Regions from separate parts of the Homo sapiens genome. Here regions 2, 3, 4, 5, 6 and 7 are each linked to region 1. Evidence: promoter capture Hi-C in 16 types of primary human blood cells and fetal thymus (Javierre and others, 2016). All regions are on one chromosome and are shown on one strand. The core of a region is centred on a gene start or on the middle of the fragment in contact, and the rest is flanking DNA. Distances in the headings are between cores, read along the strand shown.

Region 1 (3,219 bases), core at 316-2,815:
CTTCCCCCAGGCTCTGCCTCAGGACATCCTTTCACAGCCAGCAACTAGCACCTCCGTGTAAGGAGCCTGCCGGGCAAAGATGCCCCCTCCATAATTAGGCTCTCGGCTTGGCTTCCCACATCCTCAGCAGCGGAACCAGGACGGAAGAGGCTGCATGGATGCCTGAACTGTTTGTTATTTCACTATTGAGTTGGCAAGGATGGAAGTAGTTGATTTACAATTAGAAGCAGCATGCTTCTTCAAATATTAATATTAATAACTGCACTACTGAACACATGAAAAGACCTTTTCATCTTCAAAGCACTTTGCAGACATTAACCCATTAGCTCTCCCTTCCCTCCATTCAGGAACAACAGGTGAGCAAGACTCTCAACAGCAGCAGTGGCCACCCTGCAGCCCTTGTGCACAGCCCACGGCCCCTGAAGAAAAAGCGTTTTCTCTTTGGATAAAAATAGGCCACCAAACCCAAAACCACAACTGATGAAAGAGTTATAGTATCAGTAATTTTACAAATCAAATGGAGCTGATGGAGTTATCATTTTAGAATTGGTATTTCCTGCTGTTTAACAAATACTTTTTTCTCAGTTGCATGGCAGTGGTCTAAAGTAAGAAGGAAAATGGACTTGAGATTAAAAACAAAAACTTACCCAAAAGGTGATAAAGAAATCCTGCAATAGAATGCATTGATTTCAGTGACCCAGCACCCTTTTAAGTTTGCCTGAAGAAAATACTACTTTAAAAGTTGGTAACAGAGACCTTTAACGGTGGGTGAGGAGTCACATACAAAGTGTCACGGCCAGATAAAATCACCGGATGCAGAGGAATTGCCATCGACATCTCCTGCCACTGAGTCCAGCTCTACCGTGGGGACAAGAAATACCTCCCTAACTCTGAGACAACCGCGGCCCACACCCACACCATGTCTCAACAACAGACTTAGGAACTTGTAGATCTTTGGACAACTGCAGGTCAGTCCCAAGACAGAGAAAAACACCAAACAGGCTAGTTTGGCTAGCAAGATTCAAACCTGTAGCAATTTCCTCTCTATTAAAAGCAATTCATTAAACTACTAGCAGGAGAAAAAAGTAAAACAATAGATTTACTAGGAGTGAAAGAGAATAAAAAGAAATTTATATATTTAACTACAGCTTTATTTCTTTGGAAGTGCTCCAATTTGCAAAAAAAAAAAAAAAAAATCAGGGTTTCTGACAAGTAATCTACGGGTATCTAAAACGTGCATGGTTTTACTTTTGTGAAGCAGGGAACATTTTTAAAAACATAGTCTTGCTTTCAGACTATTCTGACGAGGTTAGGAAGTATTTTTGAAAATTGTTAAACAATTAAATGGGAATATAGAAAGACGTGAAAAGAGAAAGAGAAAACTCACTTGTATCCTGAATCTCCCTACCGACTTACTCTTTAATTCCACAGAAATTTTTTTAAAGCAGGAAAAGGAAAATGGACTGAAAAGTTTTAGGCAGAAACTGACACACACCTCACTTACTACTTTGCCGGAGAGCAGATCCTGAGTGAGCTTCCCTCAAAGTCTGTGGTCTCTTTCCAACTACCTGCGGGAATCCTCTGCTCCGTAGCTTAAGAGGATGCAAAGACCATAATGTTTCTAATAGAGCTGCCTCCTTAAATTGGGGGGTGTGGTCAAGCCAGGGAAAGCTGGAAAAAAGGCAGTCTTCCTCTTGCCCCTGGCACCAGGACAGCAGCCACTGGCACAGGCACAGCAGTCTAGGTGGAAAGCACTGTTGATTGACAGTGGTGGCACCAAATCACACATTATTTCGTATTCTTCAAATTGTGCTTCAGCTGAATATAACTCAGCCTTGGAGAGTAACAGGGAGGGAGATGAGCAAAAGGGAACTAGTTCAGTGGGATAACACTGTATCTCACCTCATCATTTGCTGATGCATTTACTCTCTGCTGAATATGTAAATATTCATGCTTCATGTTCCTTGACTTTCTCAATGGAGCCCCCATTAACCTAGGCAAGGTCTCAGGTGAGGGAAAGGGATTGCTTTAGAAACACAGGACGTCCACCACCCAGTCACCTGCTCAGGCTTCCCGTTTCTCTCTAATAACTTGATATGAAATGTGATATTTTCTAAAGAAAAGAAAATAATTTTGTGGAAGAGAGCTGACTGGATATGGACTTGGGATTTCTGAAAAGTAAAGCTAAAAATCCCCTTTTCATATAAGTCTGGTTTTAGGCAATCTCTAAAATAAGGATACTTTTAGCAGCCCTGACTCATGGTCCGTGGTGCAGGAATAAAAGGGCAGAAGTGTTCATACATTTCTCATTTAGGGAAAATGTAAACAATATGAAAATCTTACATCTGTCCTAAGTGAAAATACACAGCATCTTTTATTCACATATTCAGGACTATGGTAAGAATGTTACAGCATAATCTCATTTCTATGAATGGAGTTATTACAATTTTTTTTGAGAAGTCAGTATTTGGCTGCTTAATCTAAGACTTTTATCCTAAAAGATTCCATCTTCTTTGAGTAGGAGGTGGGAGTTAAGATTTGTCATAGTTGGCTTCTTTCTCTTTTTAATAAAGATACAAACTTAGAAAATCCTTGAAAATCTAATAACTGTCATTTGGAGCCATATCATCATCAGCCTTCATTGTATAAAGCTGGCAATGCAGTTAAGATGACATTGTAAGTAAAGCAAGATTTTACTGCTCATCTTCTGCCTTTGCACATTAACTTGGAAGTAAGGAAGAGGTAATGCTATTGGTTCACTTTAGTTTAATAAATTGCCTGTGCCAGGCACTGTTCTAGGCACTAGAAAGATAGCAAGTTTGCATTGTAGTGAGGAGACAGACACATAAATCAACGATCTCCCCCCAAAAATGTAATACATGCTACAAAAGAAGTCTATGAAGAGAGCTAGGGAAGCTTCAGCCTGCCCCTGTAACCCAGTCAATTTCAGCACACTGCCCCATTTAAAGAGCCCACGGTCAATTATACCAATCATAACTAATTACAACTGTATTCACTATGTTTGCAGGATAATTGAAAAAAACAAAGTTGAGAAGACTTGGATTCTTGCTCTATAAGGGTGTACAGTGTGGCTGTCAAGGGGTTCTGAAGTCTGGAGTTGTCTATGCTGAGTTTATATAGAAAGCAACTCTTCAGGACCTTAGCTCCCTCCTCTGACACGGCCTTTTACGGTGTGGAAGAACATAAACTAGAAATCTT
Region 2 (3,219 bases), core at 211-2,710, 510 kb before region 1:
ACTTCAGGTCAATATCCTTGATGATCATAGATGCAAAAATTCTTAACAAAATATTAGCAAACCAGCCAGGTGTGGTGGCACACAATGGTAGTCTCAAGTACTCAGCAGACTGAGGTAGGAGGATAGTTTGAACCTGAGAGGCAGAGGTTCCAGTGAGCTGAGATCACACCACTGCACTCCAGCCTGGGCAACAGAGTGAGACTATCTCAAAAACAAAACAAAACAAACAAACAAAAAACCTCTAAATATTAGCAAGCCAAATCTAGCAGCACATCAAAGAGTTAATCCACCACAATCAAGTAGGCTTTATCCCTGGGATGCAAAGGTGGTTCAACAAATGCAAACCAATAAATGCAATTCGCTGCAAAAACAGAATTAAAAACTAAAACCATATGATCATCTCAAAAAACACAGAAAGCTTCTAATAAAATCCAACATCCATTTTCATGATAAAAACCATCAACAAACTGGGTATCAAAGAAACATACCTCAAAATAATAAGCACCATCTACGGTAAACTCACAGCCAACATCATACTGAATGGGTAAAAACTGAAAGCATTACCTTCAAGAACTGGAACAAGACAAACATGCTCCCTCTCATCATTCCTATTCAAAATGGTACTGAAAGTGATAGCCAGAGCAATCAGGCAAATGAAAGAAATAAAAGGCAACCATATAGGAATATAAGAAGTCAAACTATCCCTCTTCACTCATGGTATGATTTTTTTTATGCTTATTGGCCACATGTTATGTCTTCTTGTGAAAAATACCTGTTCATGTCCTTTGTCCACTTTTTAAGGGGGTTGTTTGTTTTTTTTTCTGGTTAATTTGTTTAAGTTTCTTTTAGATCCTAGATATTAGACCTTTGTTGAATGCATACTTTGCAAATATTTTCTCCCATTCTGTAGGTTGTCTGTTTACTGTGTTGATGGCTTCTTTTGCTTTGCAGAAGTTCTTTATTTTAATTAGGCCCGAATTTTTCAATTTTTGTTTCTGTTGCCATTACTTTCAGCATCTTTGTCATGAAATCTTTGCCAGGGCCTATGTTCAGAATGGTATTTCCTAGGTTATCGTCCAGAGTTTTTTAAATTTTAGAGTTTGCATTTAAGTCTTTAATCAGCCTTGAGTTGATTTTTGTATATGGTGTAAGAAAGGGGTCCAGGTTCAATCTTCTGAATATGGCTAGCCAGTTATCTCACCACCATTTATAGAATAGGAAGCATTTTCCCATTGCTTGTTTTTGTCAACTTTGTCAAAGATCAGATGGTTGTATGTGATTGGCATTATTTCTGGGCTCTCTATTCTGGTCTACATGTCTGTTTTGTACAAGCACCATGCTGTTTTCATTACTGTAGCCCTGTAGAATAGTTTAAAGTTGGATAGTGTGATGCCTTCAGCTTTATTCTTTCTGCTGAGAATGGTCTAGGCTATTTGAGATCTTTTAAAATTTTTTGGTTCTATATGAATTTTCAAATAGTTATTTCTAATTCAGTGAAGAGTGTCATTGGTAGTTTGATAAGAATAGTAGTAAATCTATAAATTGCTTTGGGCAGTATGGCCATTGTAAAGATAATGATTCTTCCTATCCATAAGCATGGAATATTTTTTCATTTATTTGTGTCATTTCTTTTAGCAGTTTTGTAGTTCACTTTGTAGAGATTGTTTACCTCCTCATTTAGCTGTATTCCTAGATACTTTGTTCTTTTTTTGCTACTGTTTATGTGATTGCATTCTTGATTTGGCTTTCAGCTTGGATGTTGTTAGTGTATAGAAATGCTACTGATTGGCCAGGCATGGTGGCTCAAGCCTGTAATCCCAGCAATTTGGGAGGCCACGGTGGGTGGATCACAAGGTCAGGAGTTCAAGACAAGACTGACTAATATAGTGAAACCCCATCTCTACTAAAAATACAAAAATTAGCCAGGTGTGGTGGCAGGCACCTGTAGTCCCAGCTACTCGAAAGGCTGAGACAGGAGAATCGCTTAAACCCGGGAGGTGGAGGTTGCAGTGAGCCAAGATCGCACTACTGCACTCCAATCTGGGTGACAGAGTGGGACTCCATCAAGAAGAAAGAAGGAAGGAAGGAAGGAAGGAAGGAAGGAAGGAAGGAATGAAGGAAGGAAGGAAGGAAGGAAAGAAGAGAGAGAAAGAAAGATGAAAGAAAAAGAGAAAGATGAAAGAAAGAAAAAAGAAAGAAAAAGAAAGGAAAGAAAGAAAAAGAAAGGAAAGAAAGGAAGAAATGCTATTGATTTTTGTGCATAGAATTGTAGCCTGAGACTTTGCTGAAATTGTTTATCAGATCTATAAACTTTTGGGCAGAGACTATGGAGTTTTCTAGTATAGAATCATGTCTGCAAACAGATATTTGACTGCCTCTCTTCCTATTTGGATGCCTTTTATTTATCTGTCTTGCCTGATTGCCCTGGCCAGGACTACCAATATCATGCTGAATAGAAGTGGTGAGAGTGGGCATCCTTGTCTTGTTCTAGTTCTCATGAAGAAAGCTTATAGCTTTTGCCCATTAAATTTGATGCTGGCTATGGGTTTGTCATAAATAGCTCTTATTATTTCGAGGTATGTTTCTTCATTGATTAGTTTTTTTTTAGGGTTTTTAACATGAAAAGCTGTTGAATTTTATCAAAAGCCTTTTCTGCTTTTACTGAGAAAATTATAAGGTTTTTTGTTTTTAGTTCTGTTTATGTGGTGAATCACATTTACTGATTTGCATATGTTGACCAATCTTGCATCTCAGGGATAAAGCCTACTTGACTGCGGTGGATTAGCTTTATCTTGTGCTTCTAGATTCGATTTGCTAGAATTGTTCATGTTTATCAAGGATATTGGCCTGAAGTTTTATTTTTATGTTGTGTCTCTGCCAGGTTTTGGTATCAGGATGATGCTGACCTCATAGGACAAACTAGGGAGAAGTCACTCTTTCTCAATTTTTTGGAATAGTTTCAACTGGAATTCTACCAGCTCTTCTTTATATATCTGGTAGGATTTTGCTGTGAACTTATATGGTCCTGGACTTTTTCTTGCTAGTAGGCTTTTTATTACTAAATCAATTTTAGAAGTTGTTATTGATCTGTTCAGGAATTCCATTTCTGCCTGGTTCAATCTTGAGATGTTATATATTCTCAGGAATTTATTTATTTCATCGGTTTTCTAGTTTGTGTGCATCAAGGTGTTCACAGTAGTCTTTTGAGATTTTTTGTGT
Region 3 (3,219 bases), core at 188-2,687, 490 kb before region 1:
TTGGAAAAATATCAGATCATTTATAATTAATTTTGCTTTCTACATTCTTTTGATATTTTGAAAGATAGGATGTTGGTTTTTAGAATTCTATCAATGATTGGTTTTAAGATTTTAGAAAATATTTTTAAAGTTCTCATTGCTTTCAATTCGTAAAATATTAAAAGAAATATTTTATTGCATTGACTATGTGAAGAAGTCAGTATACATTCAATTCTTCCTGAATATCTTTTTCAATTTTAGTTACTTTAATCTCTTATTTTACATCTTGCTTATTATTTTTTCATAGGAATAATTTTATTTCAAAAATAATTTTAGACACCTAAATTCCATTTGTGACCATATTAACAACAATTATTTATTATTTGCCTATACCATTTTTTACCATGAGTACTATAGTAGCATAACTTATCCATTCTTGAGTTATTTTTTTTCTTCTCTTATTCAACAGAAATAGTTCTCTGAGCAATTTTTACTTTGAAAGGGAATTGAGTAGAGTACTTTATAAAAATTATTACAAACGAAATTTTCTTCCCTTTAGGAGGAAGGGATCAGTGAACATTTGGTTGTATGGCAATAGTTGTATCATGTTGTGTGGAATTATGATGTTGTTGCTGTCTTTATCTGGAGATTAAGTAGGATTTAAGGAGATATATATGCCAAGTTGACAGGGTGAATCAAAGAACAGAGTTAGTAGAAAAGAATATAGAGTTCCTTTTTTCCATGTTCTCAGTTACATGTGGGCATTCAATTCACCTAGCATTTTTGTGTTTTGTCTTTATACCCAAAGAGTTATGAGTGTAATTACATCACCATTTTCTGAAAGAAAATGCCAAAAGTATGATGTCAGCTGAAATTTTTACCTTTATGAACATATATTTTTTCTACCTGGATTCTTAAAAGATGCTATTCCTATTAAAAATTAACATAAATGCACTAACAAATTTCTATTTCTTTAAATTTGACTTTTAGTTATCTATTTCATTATGAAAACTTAAATTTTTATTTAAATTATAAACATTTTAAATTACTTTTTATTATTTCATACACTATATCTCTTGTACTCACCTCTTTTGAATTTCCAATTTTATGTAAAATATTTAAAAGCACATATACATTGTATATTTTCTCATTATTTTTGTTCTTTTTTTCTGAGGTTTGTGAGAATTTTTTCATTATGCTTATATCATGTATTCAATTTTAATCCAAATATAAACTCCTACTCATTGCCTCAATTACAGTTTTACTTAACAGAAAAGTCATATATTTTTGTCTCTCCTGATGTTAGATTTTTCCTCCTTTATAACTATAGTTAAATTAACAAATTAAAAAACATTTTTAATATGGCTGTATTAGTCCATTTTAAATAACTTCCTGAGACTGGGTGATTTCCAAAGGAGTTTAATTGACTCACAGTTCAGCATGGTTGGGGAGGCCTTAGGAAACTTAGAATCATGGTGGAAAGGGAAGGGGAAGCAAGGCACCTCTTTCACAAGGCAGCAAGGAGGAGAAGTGTCTCCTGAAGGGAGAAGAGCCCCTTATTAAACCAGATCGCATGAGAACTCACTATCATGAGAGCAGCATGGGGGGAACCACCCCTGTGATTCAATTACCTTCACTTGGTCTCTCCCTTGACACCTGGGGATTATGGAAATTATGCAGATTATAGTTCAAGATGAGATTTGGGTGGGGGAAGTAAACCTAGCCATATCAGTGGGTAGGAACATAAATTTTTCCTATTAATGAAGAGCTGTTTCATGGAAAATATTTGTTCTGACTTCACAGACAGATATCATTTTTTTTAACTGCATTGTGTTTTCACAAAATAGTATTTTTTCTCTCCTAATTCTTATAAAGGATTAACTATATTTAAACAGGATTTAGAGTTCAAATTGAGGCGAACATCTCTATTAGGCAGTGTCATGTTCAGATGATACATGCTTAGATGATACTTAACAATTTAAGAACAAAGGTCATGGGCAGATATGCAGGAAAAATAGAGACTTAAAGTGGGGACAATGGGATTAGATGACAAATATCTGTTTTCTAGTTACAGTAGTGTTCTGAAGCCAGTTGAGGTCTGACTGCCTGTTAGTAGCCAGCCTTGGAAATGTCTCATTTTTTAATCTCCCATGGTCATCTATGGGAAGTGGGGTATAAGTGCTGCTGTGTGTAACCTGGCTGGACTGGCCTATGAAACTGTGCCTTTTCCAGAAGTGGCTTTGAGATCCAAATGTAGCATTAGCCCAGTCCCTGCTCCACTTCTTGCTGCTCTGAATTAACATTGATATTAATATACTGATGCGATCTGTCATGTGTATGTCGGGCAAATATTCTTACTTAAGTGGACAGCCAATGATCAGGCTACCTCTTCCACTATAGCATAAGTTACCAGCAAATTTTTTAAAATTCCTAGCATTAGGGTGCTATCTTTTTCTAGTTTTCAGAATAGAGTCTAGAATTTCCCTTTTTTTATATTTTTGGTTACTTTCATGAGAATGATGTACATGGACCTTCAGGTGTATGTGCTCAAGTTTCCATTTTCTCTATATCCTACAGTGTGTTTTTGTTTGTTTTATTGGAAATATTATGTTGCTGCCCTACTTAAAATTCTTCAGTATTTTTCCATTGTCTGGAAGTTAAATTAAAATTATTTAGGAGGGCACTTATAGCCTTTTAAAATCAAATCATTATGCATTTCTGCTACATGGAATCTCATGTTGCTGATCCATGACCTTAAACTCCAGCCTGCAGAGTACTTTGTTTATATTTATCCAGTATCTTGTCTAATCATTTGACCACAAATATCTTTAGCCTGGCATGCAATCCAATTGCCACAATTCTCTTTACTCCCCATTTTTTTATACCATGTCCTTCCTATTTTTAAATTTTCTGTCTGAGCACTGATGGCTTTTGAGTTTGCCATTTCTCTTCTTATTCTTTATCTTTCCATTTTTCTATTTCCAGTATTTCATTCGCTGTAGAGCTATTCTCACTTCCCTGTGCTGGAATTTCTCTCATTTCTGTTTTTTATGCCTCAGTCCTTTCTCTGTTGGGAATACCCTTCCCTTTCTCATACATTCTTTGCCTGATAGTGCCTATTTGTCCTTCATACTTTACTTGGACATCACTTTGTCTAGGAAGCCCACTGTGATTTTCCAGAATGGCTCTGACATCCAACTAGGGTACTTTTAGACCTCTTCCAGCGCCATTGCACTCTCT
Region 4 (3,219 bases), core at 220-2,719, 470 kb before region 1:
ATTTTGGATAATTTCTTTTTCTCTCTCAGTTTCATTCATCAGTGTGCTTCATTTTCAGCTTAACTCATTTATTTATTTATTTATTTATTTATTTTTTGAGACGGAGTCTCACTCTGTCACCACATCAGCAGACACAACTAAAGATAATTCCAAAAGACACAGTTCAGGTAGAAGTAAAGTACGTCAGATGAAGAGTTTGAGATATAAGAAGGAAAGCACAGCAAAAGAAAAAAATGATAAATACATGGATAAATATAATGACAATCAATTAGAAATATGTCTTTGGGATTTTTAAAAATGGAATTTAAATATATTACAATAGCATATCAATCAAGACTGATGAATAAAGCTAAAAATAAACGAAGAGGAGTGGGCAGGATTTCAGGAATGGCAGAATAAAGAGCTCTACAGACCCTCTCCAAGCAAAACAATTTAACTGGAAATTTAAAAAAAAAATCATTCATATATCTGGTGTTAAAGTCTCCTACTATTATTGTGTGGAAGTCTAAGTCTCTTTGTAGGTCTCTAAGAACTTGCTTTATGAATCTGGGTGCTTCTGTATTGGGTGCATATATATTTAGGATAGTTAGCTCTTCTTGTTGCTTTGATCCCTTTACCATTATGTAATACCCGTCTTTGTCTTTTTTTTTTTATCTTTGTTGATTTAAAATCTGTTTTATTAGAGACTAGTATTACAACCCCTGCATTTTTTTTGCTTTCCATTTGCTTGGTAAATATTCCTTCATCCCTTTATTTTGAGCCTGTGTGTTTTAATGAAAGATTTCTGCAAAGATGGGTAATTGAGGTAACACCAGAGAAATATACACACCTACAAAATAAAAACTAAAATATCTTAAAAAATAAAAATCAGCCTTGTGCAGTGGCTCACACCTGTAATCCCAGCACTTTTGGAAGCCAAGGCGGGTGGATCACCTGAGGTCAGGAGTTCGAGACCGGCCTGACCAACATGGTGAAACCCCATCTCTACTAAAAATACAAAATTAGCTGGGTGTGGTGGTGCATGCCTGTAATCCTAGCTACTTGGGAGGCTGAGGCAGGAGAATCACTTGAACCCAGGAGGCGGAGGTTGCAGTGAGCTAAGATCGTGCCATTGCACTCCAGCCTGGGCAACAGGAGCAAAACTCCATCTAAAAAATAAATACATAAAAATAAAAAATAAAAATTATTTAAATATCTGGAAATCGTCTAAGGGCATACAGCAAACAGGGAAATATTTATTTAAGAAAACCTACTTCGTATTTATTAGAATAATGAGAGTCTATGGTATTTGAGCTGCATCCTTCTCCCCTACCCCTCACACCCTTTTTTGTGTTATAGAAGCTTTAACTTGGGCACTCTATTCTGGGTAGGTGATGCCAACAAGACAGAAACTCCCTCTCCCCTCAGATTATAGTCTGGGAATATAGATTTTCCAGATACGTTCCAGAAGCCCTGTTCCAGGCAGTCATGGCTGAGAGGACTTTTCTCCTTTTCCCCACCCAGCCCCTACTCTTAGAGTGGAAGATCTACTTCAGGCATTTCAAGCTAAGAATACTGAGGTCCTAGTTGCTTTCCCCTACAGCTGGCTTGTAGGATGAAAGCTTAATGCCAGGAGAAGAAAGTTGAAAAGAAAAGAGGCTCTTAGCCACCCCCGACGCCCACTCAAAAAAGGGGTTTTATTTCCAAGAAAAGCAGTTCCCTCCCACAGCTCCAGTATAGTGGAGAAAGAGTTCTGCTTGGGCGGCGGAGGTTTGGCAGGGCAGAGAGGGACAGACTTGATTAGGAACTGAGTGTGGAGAATTCCACACTAAGTGCATTGTTGCAAATCATGGAAATATTCATGGAGACCAATTAAGAGGAGGCTGGCAGCTTCATAATACAAGCAAAACAGTAGAGCAGCCATAAATTTAATAGAGACAGCCAGGAAGATCCTTCCTAGAATCACCATCAGCACTAGGGTCTTAATGGCTGAGTGCAAGCTGTTGGCTGCATCTACAAGGGAGTAATCAGAGCAGGGCAGATTTGAAAGCATTTCCGAAGGTGCACACAGACCCATCAACATAGGGCGGAGGCGTCACTAGCACATAGATCTTAAACGCAACCTCTGACCAAACACTGACTGGCAGGAAGCCAAGCTTAAAAATAAAATCCTGCTCATCCCTGGAGATCTGTAAGACCGTGTGCGTGCTTAATAATGTGTCCCGTAGGAGCAATCAGAGAAAAAACCTTCAAGCAACTAGTCCCTGAGAAAATGTGGAGCAAGGAAATGTAAACTCTCTGAACTGTAATAGCAGCCTCAAGGCCACACATATATCCAATGGTGTAGGATAAAGCTCTCACTGGCTAACGAGATTGAAGCAGAACCTTTGATAAATAAGTGGCTTATGCCATCCTAGGGGACACTTCTAGACAAAAAGATAAAACCTTGCTTAAAGATAAAGCCAAGGGAGGAAACGCTGAGGAGGGTCATCTGAGGCTGCGCACTCTGGGGGAAATGAACATTGTAGAATTAGTTCAGCCAAGTCACAAAACAATAGACAACAAAACAACAACCACTCCTGAGGGAGAGGGAGAATCAGTATTCAGAGTTGCTACAATAGATTATCTAAAATAGGCAGTTTACCACAAAAATACTATAATACCTGCAAGAAAAAGAAAAGTGTTACCCACACACAGGAAAAAAAAATTTTTTTGACCCAAACCCATGACTTAGAAGTGGCTGAGAGGGTGGACTTAACTGGCAAACAGCCCAAGCAACCATTATAAATTTGTCCAAAGAACAAAAGAGGACCATGATTTAAAAAATGACGGTATGATAATAATATCTCATCAAATAGAAATTATTTTTTAAAAATTAAGTTAGTGACATTGCAAGCATAACAACCAAAATGAAAAATTCACTAGAGAGGCTAATAGTAGGTTGGAGAATCTACAAAGATTCTCAGAAGAATCAGCAAAGTGCAAGATAGATCAATGCAATATTATGCAATTTGAAGAAGGGAGAGGAAAAAAATATGAAGACAAATAAAGTTCTAGGGAAAATATTTGAAGAAATAATGGCTGAAAACATCCCAAATTTGATTTAAAAATTAACGTACACATCCAAGAAGTTATACAAAGTCCAAGCAGGATAAATGCAAAGAGATCCATACACAGACACATCATAGTAAAAATGTTGAATGAAATCAGAAAGTATTGAAGGCATCGAGGTAAAATTAC
Region 5 (3,219 bases), core at 200-2,699, 460 kb before region 1:
AAACAAAACAAAATAAGAGCTAAAATTCCAGATGGCTTATGTGTTTGAGGCTTTTATTTGTTTTCATTTTGTTGTTGTTGTTATGGTGAGTGAAGACCAATGGAAGTTGTACAAATCCAGTCTCGGGTCTCTACCTTACTGACTTGTTGAGAACCCCACTCTCACCAGAAAAGCAAGGCTGACAGAGTATATGAGCAGGATGAATTCTGGCTCAAAAATCCACAAAATGTCAGTGTCCGAAGGGCATACAAGATTATCTAGTGTATCCTCCGTACTTTAAAAACTGAAACCAAGTGAGGTGAACAATTTGCCCATGGTTTCTTGAGGCTGAACAAAATTTTGCATCCCTTTGATCTAATGCTTCTTCCTTTAATTTAAAGTGGTGTGAATTTTAAGCAAAATAAAATTCCACATGCTTCTGATAGGGTTGCATTCACTGCGTCCAAAAAATCATTTAGTCTGAGGCTGTCAGTGATCAAGCCACCCTCTGAGCCTCTTTACAGGCATTTAAACCTATTGGAAATGTAAAACGGTATTTTTGCCAAAGCAAAGTAAAATCCCCTTGAACTGGGGCTTTTGTAGTGAGAGACAGAGAGAGAGAGAAAGAAACAGAGAGAACTGAAGTGGAAAAAAGCAGAAGACAGATGATAAGAATTTGTATCTAAATATTATCTTTTATTATCTTTTTATAAATTGAAGCTGTGTTTTCTTGCTCCTGTTGTTGTCTGATAAAGTCTGGCATAAGACACTGTGCCTTCCAGGTTAGTCTGAGGACAGGAGGCTTAGAGGTCCCTTTTCCGGAGCCACCAGATCCAGTACAGATAATTGACCATTGCTTCTCTTAGGGAGAGCTCTGTGACCACTTGATCACGGAACTTGCTTGATGTTGACAAAAATGCCCATGGATCTGTTAGGAACTGGGCTCACACAATCATTTATTTTCCCAAGTTCACTTCTGAATCATAACAAACCCTCAGTGGGCTCCAGAGAGACAGAGTTAAATAGTTTCCTCTATTCATCATTCTGGAGCTTAGAAACAATTAGCCCAACTAAACCGTATTTGTTCTATTAGAAATAGAAATGGTGGGTAGCTCTTCGCAAGAGCACACAGAGTCTGAAGCCAATTGACCCTGAAAATCATGCCAAACACAGAGAAAACCTTTCAGAGGGGCTGATCACCCCTCAAAGGTGGGGCCCAGGAAAGGGCCTGTGAATGTCAGGAGATAAAGTGACGCAGACACCAGAGGGCATTACTGGGACACTGTCACCATGCTACCTCCTACCTTCCCACTGCTCAACTCCCTCATCCAATATTGCTCCAAAGGAACAACTGTTGACCATCCCCAGGCTCTTAGCAATGTTTTGGCTTGAGAGACTCATTTGCCAAGTGGTTCGCGGCCTTATGGCAAAGTAATTGGGTTTCTCCCTTTTGATCCACACAGTCCAATAAAGACTATAAATACTTGCTTTTCCCCTTGAAAGCCCCCCCTTCCTGATTTCACCTGGGCACACATTTAAGTTTGGAAAGAGGAGGATGAAGTAGTGATGTGATGTGGGCCTGTAGTCTTGTCAAGGCGAGTGCTCCTTGGAGATGGCTCTGTCGGAAAGAGAATGTGATGGTTCTCGGGGGTAGATGGAAGAACAGGAGGTGTAGTCCTGTGAGAGGGCCCAGGTGACTGTACAGCTACTGCTCTATTTCCAAGGGGGAGAAATCATCACTGGAGAGGCCAGTTCTTGTGCAACTTCAGCCTCCATTTTCAAATGAGGGCACAGGGGATGCCCTCATTTGAAGGCGTTAGGATTAGGGGCAGCTGGAGGAGGTGCTCCAGCCCTCATTTCTTCATTTCCAGACCATTTGTCATTTAATACTTATTCAAGCAGGTTTCTCATTCTGGGCCCTAGGGGCATTTTGAACCAGATAATTCTATTTCATGGGAAGCTGTCCTGTACATTATAGGATGATGTTTAGGGGCATGCCTGGTCTCTACTCAATAGATGTCAGTATCAAATCTCACTTTTTAATGATGTGACAACCAAAAACCAAAAATGTCTCAAGAGATAGCCACATGTCCCCTCGAGAGTAAAATTGCCTGAGAAGAATCAGTGGCCTAAAGGATCCAAATGCATTTTACAGGGCTCACCAATGACCTGCAGTTTGGACCAAAAGCTGCACTCAGAAGATTTAGACCCAAGCCAGTTCTGACCACCACCTGTCATTCCCACTGGAAAGGCACCCCAGAACCCAGGCACAGTTGTGCCAGAGCCCCACTCTAGGCTCCCTTATTCTTTCCCCGTTCCCACACAGATATGGGCTCTTCTGCCTGCCCTTGGAGTCCTCAGCCTAGTTTTAGAAGATCCAGAAAAGGAAACAAATAAAAATAAACAAAGGGGTAGACATGAGCAAGGGAGAAAGCAAAATATTTAAAAGTAAACAGTCTGGGGGTAGTGAAAAAAATGTCTCTCTCTCTTCTCTCTCTCTCTCTCCCTCTCTCTGTCTTTAATAGAGCTCCTGGGCTTTCTCAAGTCAGCCGCTGCCTGAGTCTGGTTTTCATTTGCAGGCCCCCTCAACTTCACTTCTTCTCATAGATAATTTGACTTGATTACTTTCTGAAAGGGCAGACAGAGCTGGAGCAGCTTTGCACTCATTTACTTGTCACTCCTAGCACTGGCTTAATTTGGCTTGAGCTGCACCTCCCCCTCCCAGGAATGATTGTGAGGCTGGGATCCAACTTCCAGTGGAAGGGCTGGGAGGACATGGGCAGTCTGGCCCACTCTGTCCAAATTAGGCAGGCAGGCCCTTGCACGTAGAAAGGCTGACACCCTTTGACAGAAAAGGAATGGTAGCTTAACAAAAGGCTGAAGCGGTCAATTCCCCACCAGAATGAATTTTGACTTTGTCCCTTGATATCAACATCAGCTAGGAATATAAAATAAAACTTGGGGATAGTTAAAAATCAAATTGTTGGCATGGTAAGGACAAGAACGCCTGGGTTGCACTTTTTTTTTCCTATTTCTCATGACACCTGGCACAGCACTGGGCACATAGAGGAGTTCGATAATTTTTTTTTTAATTTATTGTCATATTGTATAGAACCCATTCTAATGAGACTGTGTTATGAGTGGTGTTACATTTTCCCAAAATATTGTTGTATAAACTCAGATTATTAATCTTTTTCATACTGTGGTAAAGTGTTACAGGACCAGATATTTTAAAATAAA
Region 6 (3,219 bases), core at 446-2,945, 430 kb before region 1:
AATCATCAGAATATAAACTGAGATGGAGTGAAATCACCCTTTATGGTCTGCTGGCTCACTTCTCCTTCTTGTTTGTTGCTTGTCATAGATCCTACCCCTTTCTGAAATGGCATGACTCTATAGGAGGTCCCAGGCCTGGTATCCTGGTTATTGGCTGACTGACCAATTGCTTTCTAACTTAGTTTCAGATTTGTTTTTCTGTGAATTCAAGAAAAAGGAGTGGTATTTGCTGGCAATTTTGCTGTGCAAGTACCTTGCATTTTAACCTTCTGGGACCGTTGTCCCTTTATTTTTATATTGACTTTGTTTAGTTGGTTAATTAATTTGTGAGTTAATAGCTTTGTCAGAGTACAAAAAGATAAGCATATATGGAAAGCTGAGATGCAGTTTGTTAGTGTATGTTCATTTTAATCTCTAAACTTTAAACCAATTCTGTTTTTCTTCTAACATTTCAAATTACTTTAAAAGTGTTAAATTATTTATCGTCAAGGAAGACGCCATCACAAGAACAGTGTTTTCTCCTCCGTCAGTGGATTAGGAATCAGAAGATCTGAGATGTATTTCTCTTTTACCACTGACTTATTCTATTGCGTATTTTTGGAATGTATTTGCTCATTTCTTACTTTACAAATTCTAGAGGGAACACACAATCTATTCCATGTGCTCTCTTTTGAGCACTAGATAAGGAAAGGTTTTTTTTTTTTTTTGGCAGATGATTGATTAGTTTACAAGTATCCTTCTTCAACAGTAGATATACCATGGCAGGGAAGTAGAACCACTGTCCAAGGTTACCTAGAAGCCAGTGACCAAACTAGACTTCGGGCTTTCATCTTGTGAGTCACAGTGTTACAATCACTAATCCCCATTATCAATGAGGCATGAAGTTGTGTATGTAGAACACTGTAACAGTCACCAGGGCAGCACACTCAGTTCAACATTACTTACCTTGGGTTCTATGCCAACGTCCTCAAGCATTTTAAGAAAATGGCTTAGAGCTTAAGTCGTACAATGTAAAAAGCTGATAAAAGATTGTCCCTATGTCAGTTTCAACTTTGCCCTCAAATGCCAACAGCAAGGACACCTTCATGAGCAACTGGCCCTAGGACTTAGAGAGGCTACTAAGTGGCTGTAGGAACCATGACACTCTGACATTCCTGGCCCAAGTAGAAATATGAAAACCTAAGCATGGTGGGTTGAAACTTCATGAATGTCTCTCGACCCTGAAATGGGTTGCAGGTGTTTGTCTCAAAGACGAGAACAGATAATGAATAAAACATGCCTGGAGCTTTGTGTTCAGAAAATGTGACAAGCTTGAATCTGATGACTTCAGGAATGAGATGAAATATGAGTTTGAGCTCATCTGCAAAGCTCTTAACGAATCCAAGATGTCGTTGCTGGTATTGCTGCTCATGGACTACAGTTTGCCCCAGGTTTATGGGAGGATAGGGGTGGAAACGAAGGGGGTGAAAAGATCTGGAAAAGAAAAGAATGAGGAGGGAAAAAGAACATGAAAGCAAGTTTTGACTGCAGATCTTTAAGGGAGAGCTCTCCCTGGAAATCTCACTGAAGACTAAATTTGACCTTTATTTTGAGCCCATAGAAGAGAGATGAAGATAAAAATACTCTGCAGATCAATGTATTGTATAAATATACTCAGCTTTATGGACTCTGAGGTTATTGCATTTCTATATCATCACTGATTCCACTTTTGCTTTAGGTAGTAAAATAGAGACTATTCTTATCATATTTTCATCTAAAATTGCACATTTAAGGTCAAGTTATCTCTTACCACATGAAAAGCTATACTTACACATATGGAAAGTAAGATAACTTTTTGTGACTATTCTTTTTTCCATGGGACATTATCTTATTTCACACATGTGTTACTGCAAATCTTTTGAAGAGAGAGATGGATTGACACTAAGATTTTAAATTCTGTCTTGGATTGTCACACTTAGTAAATTTCTGTGGAAATTCCAATTGTTGGTTTAGGAAAATTCCAGCAGGTGGAGCTGTAACAGCGCTCAATTTCAACAGAGTTCTCTGTTATTGGCAAGATGGTCTGGAGCCAATATGGACTCCAAGCTTCTGTTTGTGAACTCTGTACTCTCAGTGAAGGGCTCTCTCTATCTGAACTCTTGCTATATTCAAGAAAAGCTGGTAATTTTGGACCCTAACTCAATCCTTGATATTTTGGGGTCTCCGGAGAATCACATAGTTGAGGTACTAGTTAGCACTCTCACTGGAAAAAGCAATTTGATAACGGCCCCCTAGTGGTCTAAACTGGTACATGTGGCTTTGTAAATGCCAACCCACCCATTCATTAGACCTCTGAGGGCACAGAGATGTTTTCAATCATTGGCTCTGTCGTTTTGACTTTTCTCGCCAAAAGCTTAAGGGAAGAAAAAGTGTGTGATACATAAATACAAAACATGCAACAGTCAGTGGGACAACTCCAAGTGCCACTATTTATTAATTTTATAATATTAGGAAGTTCGCTTTTCCCTGAGCCTCAGTTTTTTAAATTTCCCAAACCAAAATGAAAACAACATCTACTGCAAAGGATTGTTGTAATGGGGAGCAAACGACATGATACACATGAGAGAATATGTGATACACTTGAGAATGTTTGATAGAACATATTGTGCATACCAGGTTGTTTTTTATTATTAATAGTAGTACTGTTGATTTTATCAGGATGAAGAATGATCTCAGGGCTTCTATGTAGAGCTCATCTCAATGGATCAAACTATAAGGAGACAGACCTCCCCTCTGTGCTCAAATTATAAAGTCCATTCCATTCTGTACATATGGGTCTATCAGCCTGCAAGTTCATTACAGATTTTTCTCATCAGTCTTGCCAAACTCCTTAAGGTCAGGGACCATAAGATTTTTGTTTCTTTTACCAAAGCATTTGGCATGATGTTTGGTTCATTGTGGTTATCCCACAATGTCTGTGGACTAAGTATCACTGAGTAAAGTACAACATTACATTTGTAAAGGGAACTCTCTCATTCCACTTATTTATTCCTACCTAGGAGTAAACAAACCAGAGAAGAGAGTAATATGCAGGCACTTTGGGGGAAGTTGGCATCGCAGTAATTCTGGTATACTGTTCTAACTCAGTACAAACCAATTAAGACACTTAATGAGAACAAAATATGCTCAAGGTAGTAGTATATGCTGTGGGAGATTAAAATTATTGCATAAAATTATTGC
Region 7 (3,219 bases), core at 518-3,017, 410 kb before region 1:
ATATTCACTCAGTCTCCTAAACACAAGAAACTCACTCCTTTCTGAGGCAGGTCGTTGCATTTTTGAGCAATTTTAGTTATTTGAAAACTCTGATGATCACATTTTCAAAGAATGGCAAAACCTTGATGTAGAAATGAAAGAGATAATTGAAAAAATCCAGGAAATTCAGAAGCTGCGGCTCACAAATTCTTTTGCCCACTTTAATTTGAATGTTTTAGCTCCTGTGAATGATGCATGAAGCCGCTGACATTGCAACAGATGGCGCTTTGGAAGAGATTCCTTTCTGAACTGCCTGGCCCTCTTATGGAAATCCTGTGAGGGGTGATCTCTGGTGACCAGGCTCAGCAGGAAGAGGAATGTGCATCCGACCTTGTGCGGAAGGTGTCCCCCAGCTGTTTTTGCAAATATCTGTTTTGTCACGGGGGTGGCTAGGTCACAAAACCTAGAGTGGCTCATGGCTTCATAGTAATATAAGTCTACCAACCTCCAAGACAGACTTCAAATCTCACTGTCAAAAGCACCTAATTGCTACATCTACTGAGCCCAGCAGGTCCTATGATAAAATTCAGTGCATTACATACTGACCTAATTCTTATCTATTCCTTTCCCAAACCCTTTTTCCATCTTCCTTTGCCTTCAAAATCAGGAATATGAAACTGTATCCATACAGCATTGCCATGTAAATTACTGGATGCACAGATACATTTGAATTGCAGATCAACAACTCATTTTTTAGTATAAGCACAGGACATGCTCACACTGAAAAATACTTGTTGTTTGTGTGCAATTCAAATGTGACTGGGCATTCTGTGTTTTTATTTGCTAAATCTGGTGACCCTAACCCATACAACAGCAAATCTATATTTTATTAAAGTATAAATGAGTACATTATTGTATATAACAGCTGTATTGAACGATTTTTGAATAGAAAAAGTCAAACTATGTTCCAAACATCTTTTAAATCTTTTTATAAGGCCAGGGATCCCTTTGTAATTAGTAAAACGAAAGCACCCCTGGATTTGTATAAACTCAGGTTTCCATACCTCAGATCCGTTTGAAGTGAAGCACTCTCAAATTCCCTCAGTTAGTGATAATGGTGGTCCTTACAGGAAGTACCTTTGTTTCATTCCCTAACATTTGTTTTCCTCACCAAGGTGTTACCATTAACTTTGAATGGGTCAAGTTCATGCTCCCCCAATGCTGCCTCTTTATTGACTTGTCCTGCTCTATGTGGATGAAGAGGCTCCAGAGATCCTAAAGCTGTACTCTGGACATAGCTTAGTGGCAAGCACAGGGAAAAGTGTACAGAGGAAGACAATAGGCTGGAATCGGAGGCTTCCAAAAATAAAATTGATTTTCTTTCTTTAAGAATTCCCAACTTTGTCTTAGGGACAAAGCCGCTGGATTTAGCAAATAAAAATACAAAGCACCCAGTTAAATTTGAATTTCAGATAAACAACAAGTAATGTTTTAATATAAATGTCTTGTGTATTGCATGAGATACCCTTATACTTAAACATTACTCATAGTTTATCTTAAGTTCAAATTTAACTGGCATCTTGTGTTTTATCTGGAAAGCTTACCTGGTAACATGGGGAGCTGCTTGCTGTCCTCAGCACTGAGGTGTAAAATATGTAGGATGACTGGCACAAAATAGGCAACAACAATAGCAACAAATAAACAGTCACAACAGCAGTAGCAGCACTCAACAAACGCCAGCCTGGATAGATTTCCTTTAAGGCCCAAGAAACGGTTTCCAAGTGCTCCTCTCAAGCTGGGCTCTTCCTTTATATTGCCCCCTGCTATGGTTTCAGTGTGTCCCCTCCAAAATTCAGGTGTTGCCTATGTGATGGTTTCAAGAGATGGGGTCTTTAAGAGGTAATTAGGTTTCTTCATCTGAAAAATGGAATTGATGATGGTAATAGCCTCCCAGCATTCATCCCAGGATATTCATGAGAAGCTTTACCATTCAAGGGCCTTGTGTATGTAAATGATTATGCTACACTTATTTTTCAGGTCTGGTTTCCTCTAATAATAGAAACAATAAACTGTTTGATATTTCTTGGCATCATTAATAAATCAAAAGTATGTTCCCCTTGTGTTCTATATTTTGCAAAATAATGAGGAAAAGAAAGAACAGGGTTACTGAGCTCTTCGTTGGAATTTTCAGGGAGTTTTGGGTAGAAATTAAAACCAAGAGTAATTAAAGCAGCAGTTCACTGACTGAATGATCATCAGACTCAACTGTAGACCAGGTAGAACTTGAACGCCCAGATCCAGCATACACTTGCTGAATTAGGATGTTTTGGGGTGTAACTTGGAAGTGTGTCCTTTGTAAAAGTTCCATAGGTCATTCTGATGATCAGCCAGGCTTGGGAATGACTGATCTAGGTGGAGGATAAATACGGGTTACCTGATCGATGTGATGTCTTAATTAGTAGATACATGTAACAATTGCTCCCTTTTCACCATTTCCACATGCCTTCCTCTCCCAGGAAGAAATGGCCACAACTCACCACTCACAACCCCAGATCTGTTTAGTTCCTTCATTCTTACCATGTTATAATCTGGCCAGCCAGAGGATTTAGGAATTGATTAATTTAGGAATCTAAATTGATAATTTAGAGAGATATCTAGGAGGTAAAAGTCAGGAGGATTTGATAGTAGATTGAAAGTGAAGAGGGAGAAGAAAATGGTAAGAAGAATGACCTGTTTTCTTGTTTGAGCAACAGAGTATGTGAACACATGGATCCTTCTCAGAGAGATGGAATTTAAAACAAGAGGGTGGAGTCAATTGTTTTAGTAGATACGTGTGACAATTATTCCCTTTTCACCATTTCCCCATGCCTTCCTCTCCCAGAAAGAAATGGCCACAACTAAGAAATAAGAAACAAGTTTGGAGATGCAGGCAAAGTCTCTATTCACCCACTCATTCAACCATCCAATTATATCCTTCAGCACTAACAGAGAAAAACCTCTTCAGACACTGGTGCTTTCCACAGCTCTTCTCAGGGGTCAGTCTGGTAATGAGTTTGGGACTTCAAAACATGCCATGCAGCCAGGCAAACTGCTCCTCTATAGTAGTCATGAGGACCTCCACACTCCTGAGCCCAACAGACATCTTTCAATTCTCATGGTACCTGACAACTGCATTGCATTTGATAGGGTTCTTTCCATTCTCCTGGTTTATTTTCATTTCTCCAAATATAGTTTTTTTTC

Evidence for each region. The method cuts DNA at HindIII sites, captures the fragments that hold promoters and counts their contacts. A CHiCAGO score of 5 or more calls a contact.
Region 2: a fragment that was not itself captured here is called in contact with the fragment with the promoter of ETS1 in region 1 in 7 of 17 cell types (activated CD4 T cells, naive CD4 T cells, naive CD8 T cells and 4 more); the score reaches 13.1 in activated CD4 T cells.
Region 3: a contact is called between a fragment that was not itself captured here and the fragment with the promoter of ETS1 in region 1, in 1 of 17 cell types (naive CD8 T cells). The highest score is 5.2, in naive CD8 T cells.
Region 4: a contact is called between a fragment that was not itself captured here and the fragment with the promoter of ETS1 in region 1, in 7 of 17 cell types (naive CD4 T cells, naive CD8 T cells, total CD4 T cells and 4 more). The highest score is 11.4, in naive CD4 T cells.
Region 5: a fragment that was not itself captured here is called in contact with the fragment with the promoter of ETS1 in region 1 in 1 of 17 cell types (naive CD8 T cells); the score reaches 5.4 in naive CD8 T cells.
Region 6: a fragment that was not itself captured here is called in contact with the fragment with the promoter of ETS1 in region 1 in 15 of 17 cell types (activated CD4 T cells, non-activated CD4 T cells, naive CD4 T cells and 12 more); the score reaches 22.5 in activated CD4 T cells.
Region 7: a contact is called between a fragment that was not itself captured here and the fragment with the promoter of ETS1 in region 1, in 17 of 17 cell types (activated CD4 T cells, total CD8 T cells, total B cells and 14 more). The highest score is 36.3, in activated CD4 T cells.

Annotation. Positions count from the first base shown.
Region 1 is chr11:128,585,993-128,589,211 of GRCh38, forward strand. It overlaps ETS1 (ETS proto-oncogene 1, transcription factor), which reads right to left and starts at 1,566. Exons shown (of 10, transcript NM_001143820.2): 1 at 1,496-1,566. It overlaps LOC105369565 (a long non-coding RNA gene), which reads left to right. Exons shown (of 5, transcript XR_948163.3): 4 at 348-968; 5 at 3,029-3,219. RefSeq lists a silencer at 1,519-1,725. The HindIII fragment of the contact is 9,036 bases long and covers 1-2,914 here.
Region 2 is chr11:128,079,919-128,083,137 of GRCh38, forward strand. No RefSeq gene overlaps it. Among named protein-coding and RNA genes, the nearest start is that of LINC02725, 14 kb to the right of the region's middle. The HindIII fragment of the contact is 2,088 bases long and covers 417-2,504 here.
Region 3 is chr11:128,097,464-128,100,682 of GRCh38, forward strand. All of the region lies in intron 1 of LINC02725 (long intergenic non-protein coding RNA 2725), which reads left to right. Among named protein-coding and RNA genes, the nearest start is that of LINC02725, 3.3 kb to the left of the region's middle. The HindIII fragment of the contact is 6,858 bases long and covers 1-3,219 here.
Region 4 is chr11:128,114,956-128,118,174 of GRCh38, forward strand. All of the region lies in intron 2 of LINC02725 (long intergenic non-protein coding RNA 2725), which reads left to right. Among named protein-coding and RNA genes, the nearest start is that of LINC02725, 21 kb to the left of the region's middle. The HindIII fragment of the contact is 260 bases long and covers 1,340-1,599 here.
Region 5 is chr11:128,130,987-128,134,205 of GRCh38, forward strand. The region is part of intron 2 of LINC02725 (long intergenic non-protein coding RNA 2725); the gene reads left to right. Among named protein-coding and RNA genes, the nearest start is that of LINC02725, 37 kb to the left of the region's middle. The HindIII fragment of the contact is 5,085 bases long and covers 1-3,219 here.
Region 6 is chr11:128,155,821-128,159,039 of GRCh38, forward strand. All of the region lies in intron 2 of LINC02725 (long intergenic non-protein coding RNA 2725), which reads left to right. Among named protein-coding and RNA genes, the nearest start is that of LINC02098, 51 kb to the right of the region's middle. The HindIII fragment of the contact is 775 bases long and covers 1,309-2,083 here.
Region 7 is chr11:128,174,417-128,177,635 of GRCh38, forward strand. All of the region lies in intron 4 of LINC02725 (long intergenic non-protein coding RNA 2725), which reads left to right. Among named protein-coding and RNA genes, the nearest start is that of LINC02098, 33 kb to the right of the region's middle. The HindIII fragment of the contact is 382 bases long and covers 1,577-1,958 here.